4 separate regions of the Homo sapiens genome follow, and all the other regions are linked to region 1. Evidence: promoter capture Hi-C in 16 types of primary human blood cells and fetal thymus (Javierre and others, 2016). All regions are on one chromosome and are shown on one strand. The core of a region is centred on a gene start or on the middle of the fragment in contact, and the rest is flanking DNA. Distances in the headings are between cores, read along the strand shown. Region 1 holds the start of ZNF417 (zinc finger protein 417). Region 2 holds the start of ZNF550 (zinc finger protein 550). Region 3 overlaps ZNF772 (zinc finger protein 772). Region 4 holds the start of ZIK1 (zinc finger protein interacting with K protein 1).

Region 1 (2,700 bases), core at 201-2,700:
GTTGCAGTGAGCCGAGATCGCGCCACTGCACTCGAGCCTGACCAAAGAGCGAGACTCCGTCTCATAAAAGAAAAAGTTTATTTTGCCAAGGTTGAGGACACATGCCCGTGACACAGCCTCAGGAAGTCCTGACGACATGTGCCCATGGTGGTTGGGGTACAGGTTGGTTTTATACATTTTAGGGGGACATGAGACATCAGTGAATATATGTAAGAAGTACATTGGTTCCGACCAGAAAGGCGGGAACAACTCGAAGCAGGGAGGGGACTTCCAGGTCACAGGTAGACAGGTAGAGAGACAAATAGTTGGATTCTTTTTAATTTCTGATAAGTCCTTCCAAAGGAGGCAATCAGAATAGGCATCTATCTCAGTGAGGAGAGGGAAGACTTTGAATAGAATGGGAGGCAAGTTTGCCCTGAGCAGTTCCCAGATTGACTTTTCCCTTTAGCTTAGTAATTTTGAGGCCACAAGATTTTCCTTTCACAGATTCTATCAGCAGGAGAGTTGTTTTCTGTAGGAATCACAGAGATTCAGCTTTGCACTCCTGCTATAGGGGAGCACATCCCTAACTTCCTTCATTTGCCTTAGGCACTCTAAGGCTTCTGAGGGCCTTCAGACACATTATAACACAACAACGCTTATCAGCCTCTGCTTCCAGTGCAGGTATTTTGCGACTGAACGACTGTTTCAAACGGTGTGGTAATTTGGATTTTTAGCCTTTAGGAGAATCCTAAATAATAGTTTTAGCTTGAGCTCCCTATTATTTACCTTGCGCTCCCCGAAATCTGAAACAGTATTTTTCCAGATTCTTGAGTGATTAGTTACAGACACTAGTCTCCAGGAATCTCAATACGGCTTCTAAGGCTAGGTGAGACCCCTCCTCTGCCCTAGAAAGGCGCCTTTTTTTTTTTTTTTTTTTTTTTTTTTTTTTTTTTTTTTGAGACAGAGTCTTGCTCTGTCGCGCAGGCTGGAGGGCAGTGGCGCGATCCCAGCTCACTGCAAGCTCTGCCTCCCAGGTTCACGCCATTCTCCTCCAGCCTCAGCCTCCAGAGTAGCTGTGACTGTAGGCGCCCGCCACCACACCCAGCTAACTTTTTTTTTTTTTGAATTTTTAGTAGACACGGGGTTTCACCGTGTTAGCCAGGATGGTCTCCATCTCCTGACCTCGTGATCCGCCCACCTCCGCCTTCCAAAGTGCTGAGATTACAGGCTTGAGCCACTGCGCCCGGCCAGAAGGGTGCGCTTTTTAAGGAGAACCCCTGACCTGATGGCGGGCTTTTCCTGCAGATGGACTCTGGGTATCGCTCTTTTTAGCGCCATGGAAAGTGGGGAACTACATTACCCAGAAAGCTCTGCGTTAAACGACAGCCGGTCAGAGCCAATGAGCACTCGGAAAGAAGGCATTTCCACGTGTGCACGTAACGTAAGGCTGAGACTTCCGGGGTCTCTAGTAGCGGCTGTGTATCGGTGACGCGGGTGTTTCCCCAGTTTGTGGCCCCTGAGTGCTGGGGGGGGACCGCGGTGACTGAACCTAGAAGGTGGAGAGGAATCGTCCTCGGTGCCCAGAGGCGGCTCTGCAGCCCCGTGACGGCGACCACTGCTCCCGGGCCGTGCTTCCCCAAGTAGTCCGATGGCAGCGGCTGCGCCGAGGCGCCCGACTCAGGTAATTGTGGCGCCTTCTGTGCCCTCAGGTCACCCCATCGTCACCCAGGTCCTAAACCAGCGAGGGAGCGGCTCCTGCTCACGGGTCTGTAGCCGGTACCCGGCGTAGGAACACTGAGGCGCTCGCAGGAGGGGTCCCTGTGTAACTGTCCAGTGGGGGTCCCTGTGTAACTGTCCAGTGGGTTCACCTTGCCAGCTGCCTAGACAGAGCCGATTTATGAAGACTGGAGAATTGCGATGGAGAAATAGTAATTGACGCAGAGCCGTCAGGCTGTTCTGGAGACAGGAGTTTTATTATTACTCAAATCAGTCTCCATTAGCATTCCGGGATCAGAGTTTTCAACATTAATTTGGCGGTAAGGGTTGGGACCTGAGATGGATTCATAGAGGGTTAAAGTGAGTTTTTCATGCTGTTTTCTGTTCTGGGTGGGATGGCAGAACTGATTGACCCAGATTACCGGTCTGTGTGTTGTCAGCTGATCCATCCAGTGCAGGATCTGCAAAATACCTCAAGCACTGATCTTAGGTTTTACAATAGTGATTTATCTTCAGGAGCAACTTGGGGAGGTTCAGACTCTTGGAGTCAGAAGCTGCATGACCCCTAAACGGTAATTTCTAACCTTGTAGCTAATTCGTTAGTCCTGCAAAGGCAGGCTGTTCTCCAGGCAAGAAGGGGGTCTTTTCAGGAAAGGGCTATTATCAATTTTGTTTCAGAGTGAAACCATGAACTGAATTCCTTCCCTAAGTTAATTCAGCCTATACCCAGGAATGAACAAGGACAGCTGAAAGGTTGGAAGCAAGACGGAGTCAGTAAGGTCTGATTTCTTTCACTGTCATAATTTCCTCAGTTATAATTTTGCAAAGACGGTTTCACCTGTTTCTGACACCCGTGGGATGCGGTGGGGAGAGCAACAAGCACAGGGAGGGGCGCAGGCAATGGCCTGGAGATGGACGGAGCCGGGAGGATGGAACCTGTCTGGAACAAAGTGTGAGGTGGAGCTCTCCCTGGAAGAGTAAGCAGGCCGAGGGCTGTGCATT
Region 2 (3,007 bases), core at 144-2,643, 360 kb after region 1:
CTTCAAGAAGCCTATAAGGTTAAAGGGTGTTTATACTCACAGTGATATAGGAATAGCACTGGGTGGTTGCAGGAGGATGGAAAAATTCGAACAACAAATAAAAACAAGAACTAGGCAAAGAAACCATAGGATAACAGAAAACCCAAAATAAGAGAAAGAATGGCCAAAATCCCAGTCAGGATGACATGTCCATGACTCTTCTGGGCAAAGCCAAATAAGAGAGAAAGGGGGCAGTAACCAGGTGGGTCCCTGAATTTCCCTCCTTTTCCAGAATACCTAATAATTATTCCACTCTCTAATTAAAGAAACACCCACAAAATAGGAATGCTGTGTGGTCACAGGAGAAGGGGGAAAACATCAAGCTGTTAAAATTAGCTACTCCAACAAGAAGACTGGGCTGATGAGACCTTAACAAACAGGATTGGGGCTAGGCTGTCCCATGACGCTAGATTTGACCCATTTCCTACCCCAGACCTAATTATACACTCATTGCCACATTAAATCACACACCCACCAGTGCCAGGCCAATCCAAGCACGCCCACATTTAGTATAAAAATGGTTGGCACCCCAATTCTAAGAAATTCCCACCTTTTCCTAGAAAAACCTCATGATTATCCCACCCCCTAATTAGAAGAGCCCATAAAATTAGAAACCCAAACTCCATTGTGCATGACCCGCTCTCCCTCGTACGTCCGCATTTCCCTCTTCTCTTGGGAAAAGTACACTCTTCTCAAAAATGTGTACTTTTTCTTCCCAATAAAAGCTTCTTGCCTTTGGCTTCATTTTGACTCATCCCTGCATTCTTTCTCACGATGGTGTCACGAAGCTGGACTCCGGAAGCGGGCGGGGACTCACGGCCCCTGGAGACCTTCCTGAGCCCTGGGCAACACCAGTCCACACAGAGGAGGCAGACGTCCCACAGACGGAACCCCACGAGCATGTCCCGGGAATGGCTCCACGCGGGAAGCGGGGGTCCAGATCCACGCCAGTCCCAGGGACAGTGCCTGGCGTCAGGGTGGAGGAGGACGCAGTAACCAGGCGTAAGATTTTACTGGTACATGGGAATGTCACTGGGTCACTCAGAGGAGGCAAGCGGGGAACCTCGTGGCAGGGCCCCCTTTATCAAACTCGTTTACCTGGGTGCCTGGGCGAGTGCTCACAGCCTGCTTGTAGGGACGTTGAGGCATCCGAATAATAGGAAGTTTTAAAAATTTACAATCCAGTGTGTACACTTGCTCCGCTAAGATCATCTGAGATATACAGAAACATGGTGTGCATAATAAAAAAGGAAAAAGAGCCAAGCCTGGCCTCTTACGGGACAAGACTACATTACCTAGAAGGCAGTGGGCCGGCGCAGGAAAAGGCGTGGCAGGCGACCGCGACACAGGGGCGGGACTTCCGGCCTCGCTGGCGTGGACGTTTGTGGTGGGGCGTGTTGGTCCGCGCTCTCAGAACTGTGCTGGGAAGGATGGTAGGGCGACTGGGGCTCACCTCCGCACCGTTGTAGGACCCGGGGTAGGGTTTTGAGCCCGTGGGAGCTGCCCCACGCGGCCTCGTCCTGCCAACGGTCGGATGGCGGAGACGAAGGACGCAGCGCAGGTGAGCAGACTGGCTCGGCTCCCCGCGGCCACCCGGCCTCAGTGTCCCGGGCCCGACGAGCGGAAGGACGGCGTTTCAGGGTCGTCCTCAGTGCAGTCCCTGCCGTTGCTTCTTAGAGGCCTAGAAGGGGGTCGCGCGGTCCCGGGTCCGGAATGCAGGCCCGCGGTGGCGTGGGGAGCGTCCCCGTTTCTGGGGTGCGCGGCGTTGTGGTATGAAATAGGGCTTTTAGGGTCCCGGAACCCCTCACAGGTGAGAGGAGCGACCGCAGTCCTCCTCGTGGCTCTTCCAACCATGTCCTTTCTCGGGCCTGCGACCTTGAACAAGTCCCGTTACTGTCCTCGTCCTTCATTTTTGCGCGCGCAAAGTAGAAATATTTACTCTTCCCCCCCCCGGGGTTGAGGAAGCTTGAACGGCTCCCTGGGTGATGTGTGTGTGTCCGTCTCAGTGCACAGCACGGTCCGGGGACGTCGCTCAGGATGTTGTTTCCGGAGCTGCTCCCTGGGCCTGTGCTAGGTTTGGAGACTCAACCCCAGCAGGAGTCTGACCCTCTGGCCTCCTTGGCCTCCTGTCTCTACAACACGAAGGGCAGCGGCTGAAAGAGGTGGGAGGAGCGTTTCTGCGGTTGCTGCTATGCCAGGGCAGAAAAGGTGGTAGGGCAGGCTGAGGAATTTGTCTTTCAGTTTAGGGCAAGGGACGCTGGGTTGCAACTAACAGTATATTTTCCTGTTTAAGACATTTAGTTACAGGTGAAAAACGAGTCCATTAAAATGTTCAGTGGCGATGGTATGCAGGATGTAGTGTCCCTTTGGAGATAACACATGAGGCCCAGGGTTACTCTCTAGCAGTCACTCTGATTACTTTCATGATAGCCCAGATTACTGTCAGCTCCTGTCGTAGTTGTTAATTTCTCATCCACCTCTCCCTCCTTTGCTTTATTTCTGACTCCCTCTGGTGTCCGCTGCTTAAAGAGGTCTCGTCTGTTGCACCGTTTAAAGCTGACCAGAGTCTCTTTGGTCTCCTTGCTCTGTTTTCTTGTCATCTGAATCTTTAAGGCCATCTGACATTGCCTTACTCATTTATTTAGTTGCCTGTTTAGGATCTTTTTCCAACCCTGGAATGTGAGTGCCTGTTGCTTCCCTCTCCCAAGACCCAGAACAGCCAGGCTTAAGTACATTTATTGTACTTAATAAATGGTTGATGATTGAATAGGCCTCTCTTATAGGGACTCTCATCACATTTCCAATAAATCCACCCCCTCCTACCAGCATGGTCTGCAAGGCTGTACTTGGTTTGCCCTTTTGACCGCATCTTCTTTCTCCTCTTCCATTGTCCCCTTTCTCACTGCATTCATCCAGGGAATCCTGAGCTTGCCAAGCTCTTTCCCATTTTCAGCCTTTGCCCTTGCAC
Region 3 (2,891 bases), core at 289-2,788, 440 kb after region 1:
CCTGGGATTCTGCGCTCTTCCTTTAGCTGACATTTCCTGTGGCCTGCCTATGTCAGGAATTGTAGGGACCATTATGGTCGCTACTTGCTAGGACCACTGCACTATTCCTGCAAGACCTTACTCTGAGATTATTTTAATAATATTTAGTTTTCTATATGGGTTACCCAGACCAGTGCTGTTCTATCTTTCCCTTAGGACATACATCTTTCATGTCCCACATAGTTGCCTCACTGGTGATGGGTAGTGAGCCCTGGGTACCTGACTGGGTGGACATGACCCTAGCTGTTGCCACAGAGACTCCAGGTGGGAGTGACCCTGGTGAGTAGGAGCTGGGGAAAGGTGTGATGTCAGGGCTGGGTTCATATCATTCCATAGCCTCTTTGTGCCTACAGTTGTATTAGTGCTAAGGCCACTGGCCTTTCATACTCTGGCCTTTGGCCTCTGGATGTTCCATACCTCTGCCTTCATGTCTCACCTGTTCCTCTCCATGGCTTGTTCTACAGTGCCTTCCAGCATTGGCCTGTACTTAGTGTTTCATGAGATGTGTAGCCCAAATAGTCCTTAAACACCAACTACTGAGTAGCAATTTGATTTTCTTTGGTATGGACCATAACCTTCTGCACAACTCTCACCTGTCCCCAGCAGCCAAGAAAATCTGATTGTGAATGACTTTGAGACCTGCCTCTTTTTTGTGCTGTACCCCACATCTTTGTCCTCTCCCAGTTGAGGCCTTCTCCATTCTATGACATTTAGATGCCAACTACCGTATAGTACACATTTGCTGAACTTGAGTTTGGACCCTTGTCCTAACAACAGTCCTATGACCTTGGTCTTAGTTGTGTTAGACACATATTTGTAGTGAGGCTTCCCCTCTTCCACCTGTGTCAATTTGTACTTCACCAGCATTTCTCTGCTTTCAGGTTGTTGGCATGGAATGGAGGATGAAGAGATACCTTTTGAGCAGAGCTTTTCTATAGGAATGTCACAGATCAGGATTCCCAAGGGAGGTCCTTCTACTCAGAAGGCTTACCCCTGTGGGACATGTGGCCTGGTCTTAAAAGACATTTTGCACTTGGCTGAGCACCAGGAAACACACCCAGGGCAGAAACCATACATGTGTGTGCTGTGTGGGAAACAGTTCTGCTTCAGTGCAAACCTTCACCAGCACCAGAAGCAGCACAGTGGAGAGAAACCCTTTAGAAGTGATAAGAGCAGGCCCTTTCTTCTGAACAACTGTGCTGTGCAATCAATGGAGATGTCTTTTGTGACAGGGGAGGCTTGTAAGGACTTCCTAGCCAGCTCAAGCATTTTCGAGCACCATGCCCCTCACAATGAGTGGAAGCCACACAGCAACACCAAGTGTGAGGAGGCCTCTCACTGTGGAAAAAGGCATTACAAATGCAGTGAATGTGGGAAAACCTTCAGCCGCAAAGACTCACTTGTTCAACACCAGAGAGTCCACACTGGAGAAAGGCCTTATGAGTGCGGTGAATGTGGGAAAACCTTTAGCCGCAAACCCATACTTGCTCAGCACCAGAGAATCCACACTGGAGAAATGCCTTATGAGTGTGGCATATGTGGGAAAGTTTTTAATCATAGCTCTAACCTTATTGTACATCAAAGAGTACACACTGGAGCAAGGCCTTACAAGTGCAGTGAATGTGGGAAAGCCTATAGTCACAAATCTACACTTGTTCAGCATGAGAGTATCCATACTGGAGAAAGGCCATATGAGTGCAGCGAATGTGGAAAATACTTTGGTCACAAATACAGACTCATTAAACATTGGAGTGTTCATACTGGAGCAAGGCCTTATGAGTGCATCGCATGTGGGAAGTTCTTTAGCCAAAGCTCTGACCTTATTGCACATCAAAGAGTTCATAATGGTGAAAAGCCTTATGTGTGCAGTGAATGTGGAAAAGCCTTTAGCCACAAACATGTACTTGTTCAGCATCATAGAATTCACACTGGAGAAAGGCCATATAAGTGCAGTGAATGTGGGAAGGCCTTCAGGCAGAGGGCTTCCCTCATCCGCCACTGGAAAATTCACACTGGAGAAAGGCCTTAGGATGGGAGATAATTCCGTTTCCTTGTTCAACATAATAACTGACATCAGAGAGAAGCTCCAAGCATAGCCTTTATGTGTAGCCGACAGCCAGAAGTAGAACTTTATACACTCAAACACTCACCCTGGGGAGGTTCTTCCGAGTGCCAGCTATATGGGAAGCCTTCTGGAGCTATGCTGAATTTTCTAGACTCTTGCTGGAATTTCGTCAAGGCAGTGCCTGTTAGAAGCCATCTGTCTTTGTGCTGGAAGAGTCCTGCCTTGTGCCAAAGTAACCCCAATGTGTTTCAAAAGACAGACCTCTGTACTATTCCCTTCCCTGGAGGGAATCATCAGTAGCCTGAGGCCATCAAGGATTCTCACTTTTTTTCTGCCCCACTACTGGTTTAAGCATGAGCATGACCCAGTTTTAGCCAGAAAAATGGGAGCTTTGTTCTGCTGACCACTGGCAGAGGTTTCCCTTCATGGATATAGTTGATCTCACATGGCACTTGGGACGAATTTTTCTAGCCTTCAAGACACCTGACCTGAAATTGGCTGCCTCATATTCTGGTTTTGCAACAAATGCCTTAATTTTTAGACTATCTGAAATCTTGAGGATTCTGTTCGCTTTGTGGGTTGGGTTGAGAACAGAATTGAGCTAAGCCAGTATGAAGGGAAGAACAGCTTTTGTGAGAGCTCCAACTATCTGTATCTCTGAAGTGATAGTAGGATGGCAAAGACTAGCTCTTATGCTAGTGTCAAGCTAACTTACTTGACTGCTTCAGCTCTCCTAGGAAAGAATGCCAGTCTTTGTAGGCCTAATCTTTTGGTCTATATGTTAAGA
Region 4 (2,820 bases), core at 102-2,601, 330 kb after region 1:
CTCACCTTGGCCACTGCAGTAGCCTCCTCCCTGGTCTTTCTATCGCCTCCATCACACCCACAGAGTATTCTCTATGCTGCATTAACAGTGAACCTGATGAGACCAGTGTCAGATAACCTCCGTTCTCTTCTCTAAACCTCCCATTGTTCTCATCACCTCCAGAAAAAACACCCAATTTCTCAGAGCCATTCCAGGCCTGAGTCCTGCCCTGCTGCTCTGAGTTCCCATGAGAAAGAAAGGAGAGTTGTGTTTCCCTGAATCAGCTCAGCTTCACTGCCAACCTTACACATTATTGTACGTAGGCGGGGCAACCTTTCACACCTCATTCCATTGTCTGCCAGCAATAAGAACGTCTACAAATAACCACCAGTCTAGAATCAGGATGTCAAGCTTCCAGTTTGTGAAGAGTCCTTAGGTCAAAGAACTGGATGGTGGCAAAAAGATCCATGAAAAAACCCCAGGATGGGGCCAGGACCAGTGAGGGCCTGGGACACCCTCCACTCACCTTTGTGAGGTCCATATGTGTTTCTGGAGACACAGTAACCTGTGGAAAGCCAAAGATCATGAAAGGCAGGTGACCATACAGGGCTCTACGGATTCAGGCTTCCCTGGATTCCTGTCCAGGCCAGAGCCAGGTGGACTGAGGATGCCTGCATTATTTCTGAGCCTCAGCGTTCCAGTCCTCAGTGCCAACTCTTAGCAACTGTGGGACCTTGCACAAGAACTCAACCTCCCTGTGCCTCTGTGTTATTCCATTCTATTCTAGTCTAACTCCATGAGGTTTTTGGAAAACTTCGAAAGACCTAACTCAGACCATATGCCGCTTCTGTACACAACCCTCCACGGCTCCTAGCATCCTAAGAATTGAGGGAAAACTCCTCACCTTGGCACTCCAGGTATGAACCTTCTTCACTGTGTCTCCAAGAGTTTAGAAACGCTGGTCCCTTTGCCTGTAACCCTCTTCCGTGCCCCATCACCCAAGTTCTGGAAATAGGGACCCCACCCACGAGCCCCCACTGTACTGGACATGAGGATCTCGACCGTAGTGACCCAAGAAGGCACTAATTTGGGGATGGAGGGTGAGGCCCAGTAGAGGCAGCGCTCACCTGAGTCGGGGCCCTCAGCGCGGCCGCAGCCATCGGAGTCTGTGGGCAGAGCGGGGCCGGGACCCGACAGCTACGGGCGGAGGGACCTAGGCAAAGCCGTCAACCCCGCCGCCGCCGACCCTTAGAACCCCCACTGTTCAGCGGGAGGACCCCTCCCCTCGCGCCTTCCGACTGTCGCCAAACAAAGCGCTCCCAAAGCTCTGACGGTCTGGATGCACCCAAGCGCTGCAAAAATGACCGCCACTGAAGTGATACCGGAAGTCCCTCCCCGACCCATTGGTCCCAAAGCGGAAACGACCCTTTTCTCAGCGCGGATTGGCTCAGCATCCCTGCGGCTGGAGACAAAACCTTCTGGGTTCTGTAGTCCCCGCTGGTCCCCAGGGCTGAGGGAAGGATGCTGCCGCCCAGCGTCACCTCAAACAAAAGCCAAGCGGCCGCGCTGGGGGCGCAGGGAAATGGCGTCGCCACAATGCAGGAGAGGGCTGGGCCTTGTCGCTCCTTAAACAGGCCGCTGGTCGATTTCTGTGGTCCCGTCGCGGCTGAGCGCCCACGTGATTAGAAGCATTGATTCAGGCTCAGGAAGCTGAGGCCAGATCCACACCGACGCGTATTCCATACGTATTCGACGCTCCTGCGGGAGCAAAGGAGCCTCGTGCCCCTCCCTTGCGGGGTCAAGGCGTTCGAGGCCGTGCCGGGGCCAAGGCTATTCTGTGAAAGGAGCGACTTAGGTGTCGCGCTGTGGGCACGTGTCCCGGGAGGCCACGTGGGGGCCGCGCCCCCGGCTGCTCCTGCTCTGACCTGAGCCCTTTGACTGTACCCAGAGGCGGGAGGCGGGGCCGAGACGTCCCATGGGAAGGGGTTCTCCGTAGCTCCACCCCGGGGGACGTCTCCTCCAGGGGGGCCGGGCGAGCTGGGAAGGCCCCAGAGCCGCCGAGGAAAGCGCCTCTGCTTCCCTGAGTCCCCTCCTGGGTCTAGGAGCCGTTCCTGCGTTTTCTGACGCCCTCTCCACCGCCCCTCGGCTGAGAACTGGGTCCAGATGAGCCTTGGACCCCGTTGAAGACGTCTCCTACCTCATCTCCCACACCTGCTGGGACCATCTCCAACCGCCCTCAGGGCAGTAGGGAGGTAGGCGGGTTCCCAGGGCACCCCAAGCGGTGGCGTACAGTGGTAGGAACAAGGCCTCTGGAGCCCAAGAATGGGATTTAGTCCCCGAGGGGAAGTCCATGCTCTGCCTTACAGCGGCTGGTATGGGCTTCTGGGGGCACCCTGAGACTCGGCCTGTAGGGATACTCATAATGGCCTCCATGAAGGTGCAGGTTTAACCACTGGACCAGTCTCATCTGGCCATCCTCTGTTGGTAACATAATGTCCAGTTATTTTGCAGGCACAGAGCTAAAGAGTTGCAAGTTACACAGCTAGAGAATGTGCAGAAAAGAAAATGTCAGGCCCAGCGCGGTGGCTCACACCTGTAATCCAAGCACATTGGGAGGCTGAGGTGGAAGGACCACTTGGGCAACATAGCCAGACCCCGTCTCTACAAAAACTAAAAAATTACCCGAGTATGGTGGTGCACCTGTAATCCTAGCTACTCAGGATGCTGAGGTGGGAGTATCGCTTGAGCCCAGGAGATCACGGTTACAGTGAGTTATGATTATGCCACTGCACTCCAGCCTGGGCAACGGAGCCAGACCCTGTCTCAATAAATAAATAAGTA

Evidence for each region. Contacts are between HindIII fragments. The CHiCAGO score rates a contact against its expected background, and 5 or more counts as called.
Region 2: a contact is called between the fragment with the promoter of ZNF550 here and the fragment with the promoter of ZNF417 in region 1, in 1 of 17 cell types (megakaryocytes). The highest score is 5.6, in megakaryocytes.
Region 3: a fragment that was not itself captured here is called in contact with the fragment with the promoter of ZNF417 in region 1 in 3 of 17 cell types (non-activated CD4 T cells, fetal thymus and M1 macrophages); the score reaches 5.6 in non-activated CD4 T cells.
Region 4: a contact is called between the fragment with the promoter of ZIK1 here and the fragment with the promoter of ZNF417 in region 1, in 1 of 17 cell types (total CD8 T cells). The highest score is 5.2, in total CD8 T cells.

What each region holds. Positions count from the first base shown.
Region 1 is chr19:57,915,342-57,918,041 of GRCh38, reverse strand. ZNF417 (zinc finger protein 417) reads left to right here and starts at 1,450. Exons shown (of 3, transcript NM_152475.3): 1 at 1,450-1,663. The coding sequence starts at 1,631. RefSeq lists enhancers at 1,074-1,133, 530-1,385, 1,404-1,693. The HindIII fragment of the contact is 13,199 bases long and covers 1-2,700 here.
Region 2 is chr19:57,558,249-57,561,255 of GRCh38, reverse strand. ZNF550 (zinc finger protein 550) reads left to right here and starts at 1,393. Exons shown (of 4, transcript NM_001397372.1): 1 at 1,393-1,600. The coding sequence starts at 1,574. LOC124904781 (a long non-coding RNA gene) reads right to left here and starts at 1,314. Exons shown (of 2, transcript XR_007067357.1): 1 at 1,138-1,314. RefSeq lists enhancers at 1,032-1,141, 86-1,285, 1,772-1,821, 1,263-2,127, 2,272-2,351. The HindIII fragment of the contact is 1,240 bases long and covers 767-2,006 here.
Region 3 is chr19:57,472,451-57,475,341 of GRCh38, reverse strand. ZNF772 (zinc finger protein 772) reads left to right here. Exons shown (of 4, transcript NM_001144068.2): 4 at 921-2,891. The coding sequence ends at 2,068. Among named protein-coding and RNA genes, the nearest start is that of ZNF772, 3.7 kb to the left of the region's middle. The HindIII fragment of the contact is 6,834 bases long and covers 1-2,891 here.
Region 4 is chr19:57,582,676-57,585,495 of GRCh38, reverse strand. ZIK1 (zinc finger protein interacting with K protein 1) reads right to left here and starts at 1,351. Exons shown (of 4, transcript NM_001010879.4): 1 at 1,107-1,351; 2 at 506-544. The coding sequence starts at 1,139. RefSeq lists enhancers at 1,515-1,614, 1,311-1,842. The HindIII fragment of the contact is 4,281 bases long and covers 393-2,820 here.